Linked DNA regions of Homo sapiens: regions 2, 3 and 4 are each linked to region 1. The links are contacts of gene promoters, found by promoter capture Hi-C in blood cells and fetal thymus (Javierre and others, 2016). All regions are on one chromosome and are shown on one strand. The core of a region is centred on a gene start or on the middle of the fragment in contact, and the rest is flanking DNA. Distances in the headings are between cores, read along the strand shown.

Evidence for each region. Contacts are between HindIII fragments. The CHiCAGO score rates a contact against its expected background, and 5 or more counts as called.
Region 2: a fragment that was not itself captured here is called in contact with the fragment with the promoter of TARS1-DT in region 1 in 1 of 17 cell types (megakaryocytes); the score reaches 5.7 in megakaryocytes.
Region 3: a contact is called between a fragment that was not itself captured here and the fragment with the promoter of TARS1-DT in region 1, in 3 of 17 cell types (fetal thymus, activated CD4 T cells and naive CD4 T cells). The highest score is 6.8, in fetal thymus.
Region 4: a contact is called between a fragment that was not itself captured here and the fragment with the promoter of TARS1-DT in region 1, in 3 of 17 cell types (naive CD4 T cells, total CD4 T cells and endothelial precursors). The highest score is 6.5, in naive CD4 T cells.

What each region holds. Positions count from the first base shown.
Region 1 is chr5:33,439,237-33,442,207 of GRCh38, reverse strand. It overlaps TARS1-DT (TARS1 divergent transcript), which reads left to right and starts at 1,574. Exons shown (of 3, transcript XR_001742630.2): 1 at 1,574-2,003. TARS1 (threonyl-tRNA synthetase 1) reads right to left here and starts at 1,243. Exons shown (of 19, transcript NM_152295.5): 1 at 1,065-1,243. The coding sequence starts at 1,121. RefSeq lists enhancers at 135-721, 736-795, 1,056-1,245, 1,346-1,655, 1,310-1,897. The HindIII fragment of the contact is 5,282 bases long and covers 1-2,805 here.
Region 2 is chr5:32,710,586-32,713,556 of GRCh38, reverse strand. NPR3 (natriuretic peptide receptor 3) reads right to left here and starts at 2,236. Exons shown (of 8, transcript NM_001204375.2): 1 at 1,012-2,236. The coding sequence starts at 1,780. RefSeq lists a silencer at 980-1,274 and an enhancer at 1,150-1,875. The HindIII fragment of the contact is 2,810 bases long and covers 317-2,971 here.
Region 3 is chr5:33,975,963-33,978,933 of GRCh38, reverse strand. The region is part of intron 2 of SLC45A2 (solute carrier family 45 member 2); the gene reads left to right. Among named protein-coding and RNA genes, the nearest start is that of SLC45A2, 7.2 kb to the left of the region's middle. RefSeq lists an enhancer at 46-938. The HindIII fragment of the contact is 922 bases long and covers 1,135-2,056 here.
Region 4 is chr5:33,956,372-33,959,342 of GRCh38, reverse strand. The region is part of intron 3 of SLC45A2 (solute carrier family 45 member 2); the gene reads left to right. Among named protein-coding and RNA genes, the nearest start is that of RXFP3, 21 kb to the right of the region's middle. The HindIII fragment of the contact is 2,547 bases long and covers 216-2,762 here.

The DNA.
Region 1 (2,971 bases), core at 325-2,824:
TTCAATCTCGAGTGGACAATCAAGAAAAAAATTTGGCTTTTAAGTGAACTGTCCTGTCACAGACTTGGGATAGAGGATCCCTTAGCTGAAGACGTCACCACTTCTCACTTGGACTATTACAACAGCCTTCTGCATGTGGCCTAACCTTCTATCCCAATGCCAGCGTGACTTTTACAAATACAATCTTCCTGCTTAAGATCCTTCATGTATAGAATACAAGTTTCAAACATCCTTGTTGCCTAAGATCCTTCTGATTACTGTTCCTTTAACCCTTCTGGCATATCTCTTGCAAACAACCCGAAAGACAATTCACCTGCGTGCCCCTTTTCACTGCCTTCCCTACCTTTACGTGGGAAGCCCCGTCCTGCCTGTTTACCTGGTGAAATCATTCTTCCAAACTAAATTCTAAAGTGCCTTCCTAAACTTCCTCTTCTGTAATACCACAAGGTTGATCACAAAGCACTAGGGCTGTTTTCCTGTCTCTTACACATCAGCCTGTGAGGCCCTCAAAGTCGGGGAACTGGGCCCTATTCATCTTCCCACATGCACCGCCCAGATCAGTGCCGGGCAAAATGTATACTTAACCACCCAAACTTGGACAAGCTGGGTCAGATCTCGGGCACTCGGTTTTCCTTTCCTTAAAATGGAGCTCTTTACCCCCGCAGGATCTTAGGAGATTGATTAAATAAGGCTCTGCAATGTGTTTCCCGCTTACAGTAAGCCATAAACGCAAGTTTGGAAGCCTCAAGCCTAAGATTCTGATTCTGTCTCCGCGTCTAACTACTGTAGATGTGAGGCTCTGAACAAGTCGCTCACTCAAGGTCTGTTTCCTCATCTGTAAAGAGAATGGACCCACAGATGAACTGCAAGGCCCCACCCTAATTTATGAATGGATGGTTCCCAAAGGGGGTTCCGACTTTCCAGGAGTCCCACCATCCCCCACTTCTCCGACCCACGCGGTCCCGGCCGCTTCCTGCTTCCTGCCCCCCGCTCCCGCCGCGAGCGTAGCGTCTGCACCCACTAGAGTCCCAGGCTGGTCTCTGGGTCCCACCAAGTTTGCTCACCGGCTTCTCCTCGCCTCCCATCTTCCCTGAAGGACTGCTGGCCTTCTCCTCAAACATTGGCGAACGACGAAGCGATGAGAGAACCCGAAAGCGACGGCCTAGAGGAGAGGAGCCAAGAGGCGGGTGGGAGGTGGGCTAGCGCCCGGGACTTGGCCTCGGCTGGACCAGCTGATGCAATCGAAAGGCGCCCTAACCCCGCCCCCAACTTGCGGCGGAACGAGCAGCCAATGGATAACGGGGGAAGGCGGGCCCTCCCTCCTCTAAGCCAGTGGAAAATCTTTTCGGGTGACAGAGCCCTTCTAGGAAATCAGGTCGCGGAGGGTGAGGAGGAGCAACTGCAGAAGCTACATGCCTACTCTCCGCTGACCTTGGTCTGGACGCTTTCCAGAGTCAAGTCCCCAATGCGCGTGCGCCTTTCCTCCCTTCTGACTTTATGTGGAACAATCATGGACCTTCCCGGACACCGTAGATAATAAGTAGGTCTTGGTCTAAACTTCCGGGAAGTTTTCGGCGACCTGGATACCATCTTCGACACGGGGACAAATCCCGGGATGGAGTCCAGGGTTTCCCGCGGCTTCGGCGCTTCCTGACCTGGCGTGACTGCCGACTTGTCGGCACCACCCAGGCCTCAGGCTCCCTGTCTGTAGTGGTGAATCGACCTTCCTCATGGCAGTCCAGGCTTCCCAAGCCCCATGTCCTGTTGATCCGGGACAAACTCTTCCTTGAACGTTCTTCACTACGAGCCGCTGCTGATCTGTACTGCCTGGAGGAGCATTTCCATAGCGCCCGCAAAAATACAATAAAGCTCACCCAAGGAAATAACCATGGATTCTCACGCCTGGGTGCCAGTGTTTGGAATCGACTGGGCTTTTTTATGTTAGTAGGCAATTTAAAACAATTACTTATTTGAAATCAGAAGCGCAATAGGCATAACTTCAGGTACGTGCTCCACCACCACGTTTTGTGGATTTTTCTTTTTAAACATCAGTTCTGTTCTCTACAACTCTCCGCCTTCAGGGTTATACTTTCCAGGAACAATAGCTTCCCAATTCGGCTTTGTGCATCCATTTTTCATACAGCATCGTTGTAGTCTTCAAATACAAATATGATCACGGCAATCTGCTGAAAAATCTTTGGTGGCTTTCCCTTGCTCTTGGACAATCCCTGATTGTCCAAGTTTTCGGCTTCATCTCGTTCGCCCACCATACACTGAACTATAAACTGTAGTGGCTTTTTTTCCTCAGGTCTTCCCACAGACTAAGTACCAAGATTTTTCCACCCTACCCTCATCCGTGCTCATTCCGACACACTTTTTGCCTGTTTGACACCTCATTTATTGTCAGATTTCAAGAATCGTTTTCTTCGGGGAACCATTTCTTGACTCCCTTACTGGATGAAACAAGCCTCCCTGTTAAACAGTGTTGGAGGCGCAGAAACATACCCCCAAATAATGGCGTTTTGACATCTGAACTGAAGAAGCCTCAAGGTCCCACTCCCCTAAATCCCCACGCCATCTCTGCCAAAGCAAAGGATAAAGTTTAGACACATCACAAGGAACATAATTGTTTTTGTTGCCTCCCTGTAAGACCAAGAATGTAGTAATCACACCTGAGCAGACCCTTTCACAAGATGTTGTACAAATTAATGTGTTCCTGATACATTCATTCTCCTTTGTAATCCCTCAACAGAATTCCTCTTCTCCCTATCATAACCTGTGTCGCTGGGATTGTATCCACAAGCTTCTGAAGCCCTCTGAGGGGTGGGTAATCACGCTGTGATTCTTCCTGTGTATACACGTTAAGTAAATTTGTATGTTTTTTCTATTAATGTTCCTCATGTTAGTGATTTTCAGCCAAACCTCAGAGGGCCAAGGAGAAAGGTCCCCTTGGCGCTTACAATAGTGTCTG
Region 2 (2,971 bases), core at 472-2,971, 730 kb after region 1:
GCGCCAAGGGGGAGCAGAGACGGGATTCCCTCATCGCAGTGCTCCTAATCCCTGACTAGAGGGAGGAGGGATCGGCGCTATACCGGCATCTCAGTCCGCCTTCCCTCAGATTCTACCCTACCGTAAAATGGGCCACACTGGCGATTACACGTCCGCGTCCCCCCGCTCCCCGAAGCCATAGCCACCATCCTCAGCCTCGAGCTCTTTGTCCAGTTTGGGTTTTATTCCAACACCCAAAGACCCATGGAGAAAACTTGGGGGACAGGTGGAAAGAAGGTTCAGCGCTCGTTTCTTCAAAAGGCACTCCCGCAAAGCTTAGCTCTGGGCGCATTAGAAACTGCGTTGCAGAACACTCTGGGAGAAGTGAGTGTCGCCAGAATTCAGACACACAGGGGCATTTTTGGTGGAAACCACAGAAGCTCGTTTATAAGGGGCTGGAAGGGAAATGAAAGGAATGAGAAGAGTGAGTCAACAAGCCTTTAAAAGAAACCTGGGGTCTGTGGAAACAACAGTCAGAGAAACCCCAAGAGCGGGCGAGCTAAGTGGCGACGCCTCGCTGCGAGGCGTCCGCGGACGCTTCCGCACTAAGTGGGGGCGCACGCTGGCAAAGGACTGGGGAACAAGTTCTTTCCGCCTCGGATGCTTCAGACCCTGGATGGAGCCAGGCACTGGGAGTGCGCCCCCTAATCACCAGCCCGGCGCTGGCAAAGTGGAAACTGGGAAGAAAAAACATCGAAGTGTTTGACAGCACCTGTTGGACCTGGGCACGCAGGAGCTACAGACGCCCTCTCCTCCAACCCCTTCACCTCCCTGGGACCCTCTACGTACACCGCGATGGGCGGTCGTCAAAGGTTGTCGCAGCCACACGGCGCATACCTGAACGAGTGCCCGCGCGCACCCGACCTCAGCGCCGCAGTGGGGAGTGGGGTCTGCAGAGTGGACGAGTGTGCAGGGAGAGCCGCGGAGAGCGGTTGGGTTAGGGCCCGGGGCCCGGGACGCGCCCCTGCTCACCTCTCTCACTGGCCTGGATATTGCGCACGATGTCTTCCAGATCCAAGTCTTTGGTCTCGTCGAAACTGTAGATGGACGTGTGCAAACCCTCCTCCTGGAAGACCTCGTGGACCCCCTCGAGGGTGAAGTAGCAGTTCCGCTCCAGCTTGTCGTCGCTGTAGACCAGTGCAGCGCGGCTCCAGTGGTGGTGGCGGAACAGGGCGAGCATCATCTCGCCCATCTTGGCGTAGGCGGGCGCCACGCGCGTGAGGTGCGAGTACTCAGAGTCCTTGTGCTGGAAGCCAGCGGCCAGCGCCCCAGCCGACAGCATGGGCAGGTCCCAGTGCGATGCAAGCCGGGCCACTGGCGCTGCTGCATACTCGCACACTGGCCCCAGGATAAGGTCTGGCTTGGCGCCCCGCGCCGCCGCCACGCGGTCCACCAAGCTGAAGAGCGCACGGTTCCCACAGTCTGAATCCTCGTAAGCCACCTGGAAGCGAGTGCCCGGCGGCAGAAGCCGCCTCCCAGTCCCGTTGCCCTCCACGCTGCGCAGAGCATACTCGATGGCCGGCCGCACCCGGGTGAGTGAAAACAAGTACGAGTCATCCTGGGGCAGTAACACCAGCACCTCGATCTTCTGTGGCGGCAGCGCCTCTCTCTCCTGGCGTCCGCCGCCTATGCCCGCGCCACCGCCGCCGCCGCCAACGCCACCGCCACCGGTGCCGCCGGCCAGCAACGCCCAGCCGAGTAGTACGCACGGGGAGAAAGTGAGCACCAGCAGAGACGGCATCGTGCCGCAAGAAAGAGCTTGCCCTCGCCGCCGCCGACTCGCCCTCTGCCCCCCACCCACCCTTCCTCTTTCCTCCCCACTCTTCTCTCCAAGGTCCCTGCGCCCCCTTGGGCGCTTTAACAAAATAGAATACCCCCTTCACTAATGCGCCAAAAGATAGAGAGGAAGCGTCCTTCTCTGCAATGTCACTAGTTTTTCTTAAAAAAAAAAGAAAAAGAAAAAGAAAAAGTTCACCGGGTGTAAACCTGTGCGTCTGTAATATACATATATATATACTTGTATATATTCGCCCTCCGTTTATACATATACTATTTTGCTTAGAGGTGGCTTCTTATTTGGGCGTTGCTAAGGTTGCTTTTGAAAGCGTTTTTGTAGAAGAAAAAAAAAGTTAGACTTGTCCAAGTGTTTGTAATTGACGGTGCATCTCCCTCGCATTTGATCTCATTGATTCGCGCCGGTTCCTGGATCCATAGCCCGCGTTTAAATAGCGTGGCAGCGGCTGAGCGTGTTACCACACATGGCGCGCCGAGGCCGGGCTTGTGTTTCCAGCGGGTGGGGTGGGTGGGGGTGGGGAGATGTGGGGGCTGGGCTGGGGGAGTCTCTCATTAACATTCTTACATCAGGGCTCCTCCCTGCACCCCTTCACTACCCATCGCGCCCCTGTCCCTAACCACCACTCCCCGCAGGCCCTCTGCCTTTTCCTTAAAGCTGAAATCGCCCACGTCTGCACCGGCAAGAGCCCCCACCACGCCGCGTGCCTGTGCGATCACCGCCTCTCCCTTTCCACGCTCTCCAGCTCCTGGCTTCAAAAAAGGAAACGTGCTTTAAAGTAGAGAAATGCGCGCGCGCACGCACACATACACACACACACACACACACACATATACACACACACACCGTGCAAAAAAAAAAAAAAACCAGGACTGGGGGAAAGGGATGGTTCTAGAAATTGTGGTTTCGGTGCAAAAATCCTTAGGTGCCGCTTGCTCTCACCTTTCTCGTTCTGGCCACATTCCCTCCTGAAGCACCGACGCGGGGCGAGCACCTGACCTTCCTGGTCCCTCGGCGCAAGGTCAGGGAACAAGGACCAAGGTCCCAGTGCAGATGGCTCCATCGCGGACCTGGTGTGCCCGGCTGGCCCGGGCGTCACCTACACCCCGCCTTCCTCAGCCCCGCGCCAGCCCCCTCCCC
Region 3 (2,971 bases), core at 346-2,845, 540 kb before region 1:
TACCTTCATTCAGGCTCTTAGTACATCTCATCTGAGCTTTAGTACTGTTGATGGAAAAAAATTAAAATATTTGAAGAAGTTTATTCTGAGCCAAATATGAATGACTATGGCTTGGAACACAACCTCAAGAGGTCCTCAGAACAGTTGCCCAAGTTGTTTGAGTTATAGCTTGGTTTTATATATTTTAGGGAGCTAGAAGTTACAGGCAAAGATATAAATCAATAAATGTAAGGAATACATTGGTTCGGCCCAGAAAGTTGGGGCACCTTGAAGAGGGGGGCTCACAGGTTATAGGTAGAGTCAAAACTTTTTCAATTGGCAATTGATTCAGAGTTAAGCTTTGCCTAAAGAGTTGAAGTCAACAGAAAGAAATGCTTGAGTTAAGGAGGATTGTGGAAGCCAAGGTTCTTGTTATGTAGATGAGGCCTCCAGATAGCAAGTTTCAGAGAGAATAGATGGTAAATGTCTCTTTTTGAGTCTTAGAAGGTGTCAGGCTCTCTAAAAAAAAACTGGTAAGGGAAGGAGGTTCTCTACAGGAAAAAAAATCCCCCACAAAAGATGGCTTTGCAGGGCCATTCCAAGATATATCAAAGAAATATATTTTGGGTAAAATGCATTAATTTTCTTCAGGGTCTGTTATCTGTCATGTGATGGTATACCAGAGTCAGGTTGGAATTTGGCATCCTATTGCTATGAAGAGTGTTTTGTATGGCAGTCTTAAGATCTCTATTTTAATGTTAATGCTGGTTAATTCTGTCTAAACTCCAAAGGGAAGGGTTATAACAGGGTATGTCCAACACCTCCCTTCTCATCATGGCCTGAACTAGGTTTTCAGGTTTCTTTGGGATCCTCTTGGCCAAGAAGGGTGTCCACTCAGTCAGTTGGAGGCCTTAGAATTTTATTATTGGTTTGCAGTACTCATCCTTTAACTGTTCTCCAGTCTCCAGTTTCTTCCCACTCCAATTGAGCCAACTGATAGCTTCCAGATTCATATTTTTAAAAGCCAGCCGTGATCAGGACACTTTCCTGCTTGATGAGCTTCAGTGGCTCCCTATGTGCCTCATGGGTAAATAATATTTTCCTAGACAGAGGTTCAAAGCTGCCACAATCTGTTCCCATCCTACTCTCCAAGCTTTACTTCCCATTACTCCTTCCACATTCTCTGTGCTCTGAATAATTTTTCATCATGTTTCCAGGAGCAGCGGGCAGGTCTGTTTTATTCCCTGCATCCCTCACTCCTCTACCACTGCCTTGCATATTGTAGGTGTTCAAAATAAATACCAATGGGACAAATGAAGGAGCCAGCCCTTCCTTCTTCAGGTTCTGGGTCTTTGCTCACATCGAAAGTTTCTTTCTCCTTTTCTGCCTGTGGAGATCAAAGCTGCTTGGAAATGCTCACTCATTTTCTAGGAACAAGGGCCCTCATTCTCTTCGAAACTGCAGGTATACTTAATTTCTAACTTGGTCGGGGACTAGATCCACAAAATAATCAAAGCACAAAAGTTTATTGAGTAGATGAACATGAAGGTGCCAGTGAGGTAGATAACTCCATCAGGAAGAGACCATTGAGGCTGCAGTTGATCACACATACATCCTGAATTTTCATCTCCTCCTGGGGCCTTTATGGTCTGTTTGGGCTGCCATGCCAGAATGTCACTGACTAGGTAAACAGAAATTCATTTTCCCACAGTTCTGGAGTATGGAAATCCAAGATCAAGAAGCTGTCAGGGTTGGTTTCTGGTGAGGCCTCTCTTCCTGGCTGGCAGACAGCCGCCTTCTTGCTGTGTCCTCATGTGGCCTTTCTTCTGTGCACCTGCACCCTCACTGTCTCTTCCTTTTCTTACATGAACACCAGTCCTATTGGATTTGAATTAGGGCTCCACACTTACAGTCTCATTTAACCTTAATTACCTCTTTAAAGGCCTTGTCGACAAATACAGTCCCATTGAGGGTTAGAGTATCAACACAGGAATCGGGAGTACAGGGACACAATTGAGCCCATAATTGAGCCCTTTCACTTTTACCCTTGTTGCCGCTGAGTCCAGCTCCTGAAGCTTGGATGGGATGTGGATGGAGCACACATGCTTTTCTCTCTCTTCCCTCCTCCCCAATCCCTTTTGTTTTCCTTCTTTGCATAATGAAGATATTCTAGAATTTTCAAATAAACAAGAAAAACACAAAAGGTCTTTTTGTGTTCATAAGAGCAGTTATGGAACTGGAGTATTGTGTTCCAATCTAGCTGTTCTCAGGTTCTCATGCAGAATGCTCCCTTTAAGATCTTCTAAAATCCCTCCACCCCTGTCCTGCAGGGAGGGGAAAAAAATCTCCCCCACCCCCCTCACCCCTCCAACCTCCACCCCATCCTTGGAGGGAGGGGCAGTTGGTGGCAAAGGGAAAGTTGGCTCACACCCTGAGGAAAACATTTTACCACCTCCCAGCTTAGATAAACAGTCCAGCCCTAAAGGGCTACTTTCTTATGTCTCTTTCTTGGCCTTTGCCATTTTCCACCTTCCATGTTAGTTATTTGAATACATTTCTAATCATACTCATTACACCATAAACTTCTTGAGGGAAGGGGGCTGTCCAGAGGTAACATACGTGTGAATGAGTGAGAGGATAAGGGATGTGTGAATGAGAGACAATGTTATATGCACTTTAATGATCTTTTTGGGGGACTGGTACTGCCACCCAAAAATCCAGGTTGATTTCCTTCAGCCCTTCCCCGTGTTCTCGGCCCCTTCCCTATCAGCACTTGGTATATGCTTAGGGAATAGAGTGATTAGGAAGGGGTTGTTTGCAAGTCACTAACGCCCACAAAACAGTGGCTTCAAGGCAGATGTTTATTTTTCTTATGTAACAAAAAGTCTGGGAGTACGTGTCTGCTGGCTTTCAGTGAGCTGCTAGATGTCAGAGCCAACAATTTAATGTTTCCTTGGCAGCTTTAAGGATGTATTGCCTCCTGGATGCAAGA
Region 4 (2,971 bases), core at 240-2,739, 520 kb before region 1:
CCAAAGAATCACGGAATATCTATATGATAACATTCATGCGGTCATTAAAAATGTATGTTTCCGAAGGTTTACTAAAAATATATCAGGTAAAATATACATTACATGCACAAAACCATCTTTTTTTGGGAGAAAACAAAGCTGCATAACATAGAGGAAAAAATGGAAAGGAAATATACAAAAAATGAAAAGTCTGGATGATAGGCTCACAGGAAGCTTTAATTTTCTATTTTTAAATCCTGCAATACATCCAAAATTTCTATAATAGATAAAAAAAGGGAAAAAGTAATCAAATAATGTGAAAGTGAAAATTAAAAAATAATGTGGTGATTTGGGGAACAAAACAAGGTGCGGTTTTACTAAATAAAAGTATATACGTGATAATAGATAACACCCTGATAGATTATCTACCTCTTTGATGTCCCCTTCGATAGACTGGGACTCCCCCTCCAAGAGTCGCATAGGACAGGGGTCGTCCCATCCACTCAGAGGCTGCTGTGAGGATCACATGAAATCAACTGAGTGGAAGCCTTTTGAAAGTCATGGAACTCCCACACGAGTACAAAAATAAATACAACAGATACAACGAACTTTCTAGTAGGGGCCACATGAAAAATGTTGTAGACTCTGAATGATCTTGTTATTTGGTTTAAAAAACAAATTGAGACCAGTGCAGTGGCTCATTCCTGTAATCCCAGCAACTCATGAGGCCAAGGTGGGAGGATCCATTGAACCCAAGTGTTTGATGCTGCAGTGAGCTGTGATCATGCCGCTGCACACTTGTCAAAGCAACAGAGAGAGACCCCACCTCTAAAAACATAAATAAATAAGCAAATAAAATAAGACAAAAAGTTAAAGTAAGAATATAGCACAGAGTAATGCATCTTACTCTCAAAGCCATGGATTTGCACTTCTCTTCCAAATGTGTGCCCTGGGAGGTCTCCAGTTAAGCAAAGGAAGTCTGCACTTCCCCAGGGTCAGGGCCAAGGCTTCAGGGCTGTCATTGCTTGCCAAAGACATTGCTTTCCAAAATAAGGGTGGCTGTGTAATTTAAGAACAAATTTTTCTTTTTTAATGGCAAGAGGGCTGAATTATTTCAGAAGTTTAAACCAGATCTCATAAAATCTATCTCCAATTCCTCCATGTCGTCAGTTGCTCCCTTTAACATTTAAATAGTCTCCTTTTGAGGGTATGTTTGTGAAGTTTTCTTTCTCCCTGATGACTCTGTACCTTTTTCGCTTGTAAATTCATCACTACCCAGTCTCCAGCTGACAGTGGTGCAAAATAAATGCAGTAAAACAACTCCCAAGGTTTCAGAATCATTGAAAGGTTTTTACCAAGGGAATTGATGAGTCAGGAATAATATCCCAGCTGGGTTTTTATTCTGAGTTAAAATATACAAAGGGGCTTTGAATATTTACACTCTCAGCTTTTACAGAAATACTATGCACATTTTGAAAGCTCATATTTATTTTTAGAAGAAAGGAGAAATTAGGCTAACAATGAAAGCAGGCTGAAAATTATGTATAAGTCAGAAGCATATATTAATATTTAGAATGAGGCTGAGTACTTGCTGACCAGATTCGCTTTCTCAGTTTTGCATTTTTGGAAGGAGAGGAAGGAAAGTGATGACAAACCATTTAGTTGGAGGCATGAAAACCAGGCTGTTGTTTCTTGGGCTATTGTTAGCTGCTTCTTTCTGTGGTTGAGGAAAAAGTAGTAATTCTGCACTTCATTTTGGTTATAATCATTTATTTTTACAGGTACCATATTGAACTTGCAGAAAAACAGTTATTTTCCTTCAATCCAGGGAGATGTCTATAGTGTTTAACACTGATTATCAGAAAATGAGTATAGTTATGGTCAGTGGGCTAGATACTGCAAGACTGATGAATTTTAAAAAATCAACTTACACAACAAAATTAAAATGGGCGAATATAATTTTCCACAGCAAAGAAGAAAAAAGCATGATTATATAAGGTTAAGAAGTATAAAAAATATGCTGTTACAGTTAAAATAGAAAATCTCAGTAGACTGTCTTATAAACTAGCCAGTACTCAATGTCGTGATTCAGAATAAATAAAAATATGACAAGAAAGACCAATTACCAAATTGTGTCTGATGTTTATGGTCTCAGTGTCTTCAGGGAAGCTAATCAATTAATATTCCCAAGGTTTCTTTCTTCTCTTATATGACAAGATGCTAAAAGCTATTATCATTTTTTGTATTTCAAAACAGTTGTATCAATAGTTTAAAGTTTCTCATTCTCTCAATGTTTCTGAAACCAGAAAAACTATAGCTTCTAGTTTTAACCTAATTTAAATCTAAATTAAGGAATCGGGGCCTATATATTCATTTTTTACATATATGTGTGTGGGATGGGCCTTCCTAAAGTTAATGGAAAAATAGAATTAAAAGATAAAAATTAAAAAGAATAAACTTTATTTCTTAATGTAAGCTCCATTGAGTTCATTGCTTACTTTTGTAAGCAATGATACCAGCCGTTTAGCCCATCCCTAAAGAACTGGGGGTCCTGGAGATTTAGCTATGTCAATGCAGCCTTTTTTACAATATTAACTGAAAAACCATGGGTGCCCTTTATAGATTTTTTAAGATTAGGAAACAGAAGTCAGAAGGAGCTAAATCAGGACTCTGGGATTGATGCCTAAAGATATTCCATCAAAATTATCACAACATTGCCCTTGTTTGATGATAGGAATGAGCAGAAGCATTGTTATGGTGGACAAAGACTTCCTGGTGAAGCTTTTGTGTGTTTTTCTGCTAAAGCTTTGGCTAACTTTCTCAAAACACTCTCATAGTAAGTAGATATTATCAATCTTTGGCCTTCCAGAAAGTCAACAAGCAAAATGCCTGAGCATCCCCAAAAAAACTGTTGTCATGGTCTTTTCTCTTGACCTGTCTGCTTTTGCTTTGACTGGACCAATTCTACCTCTCGGTAGCCATTGCTCTGATT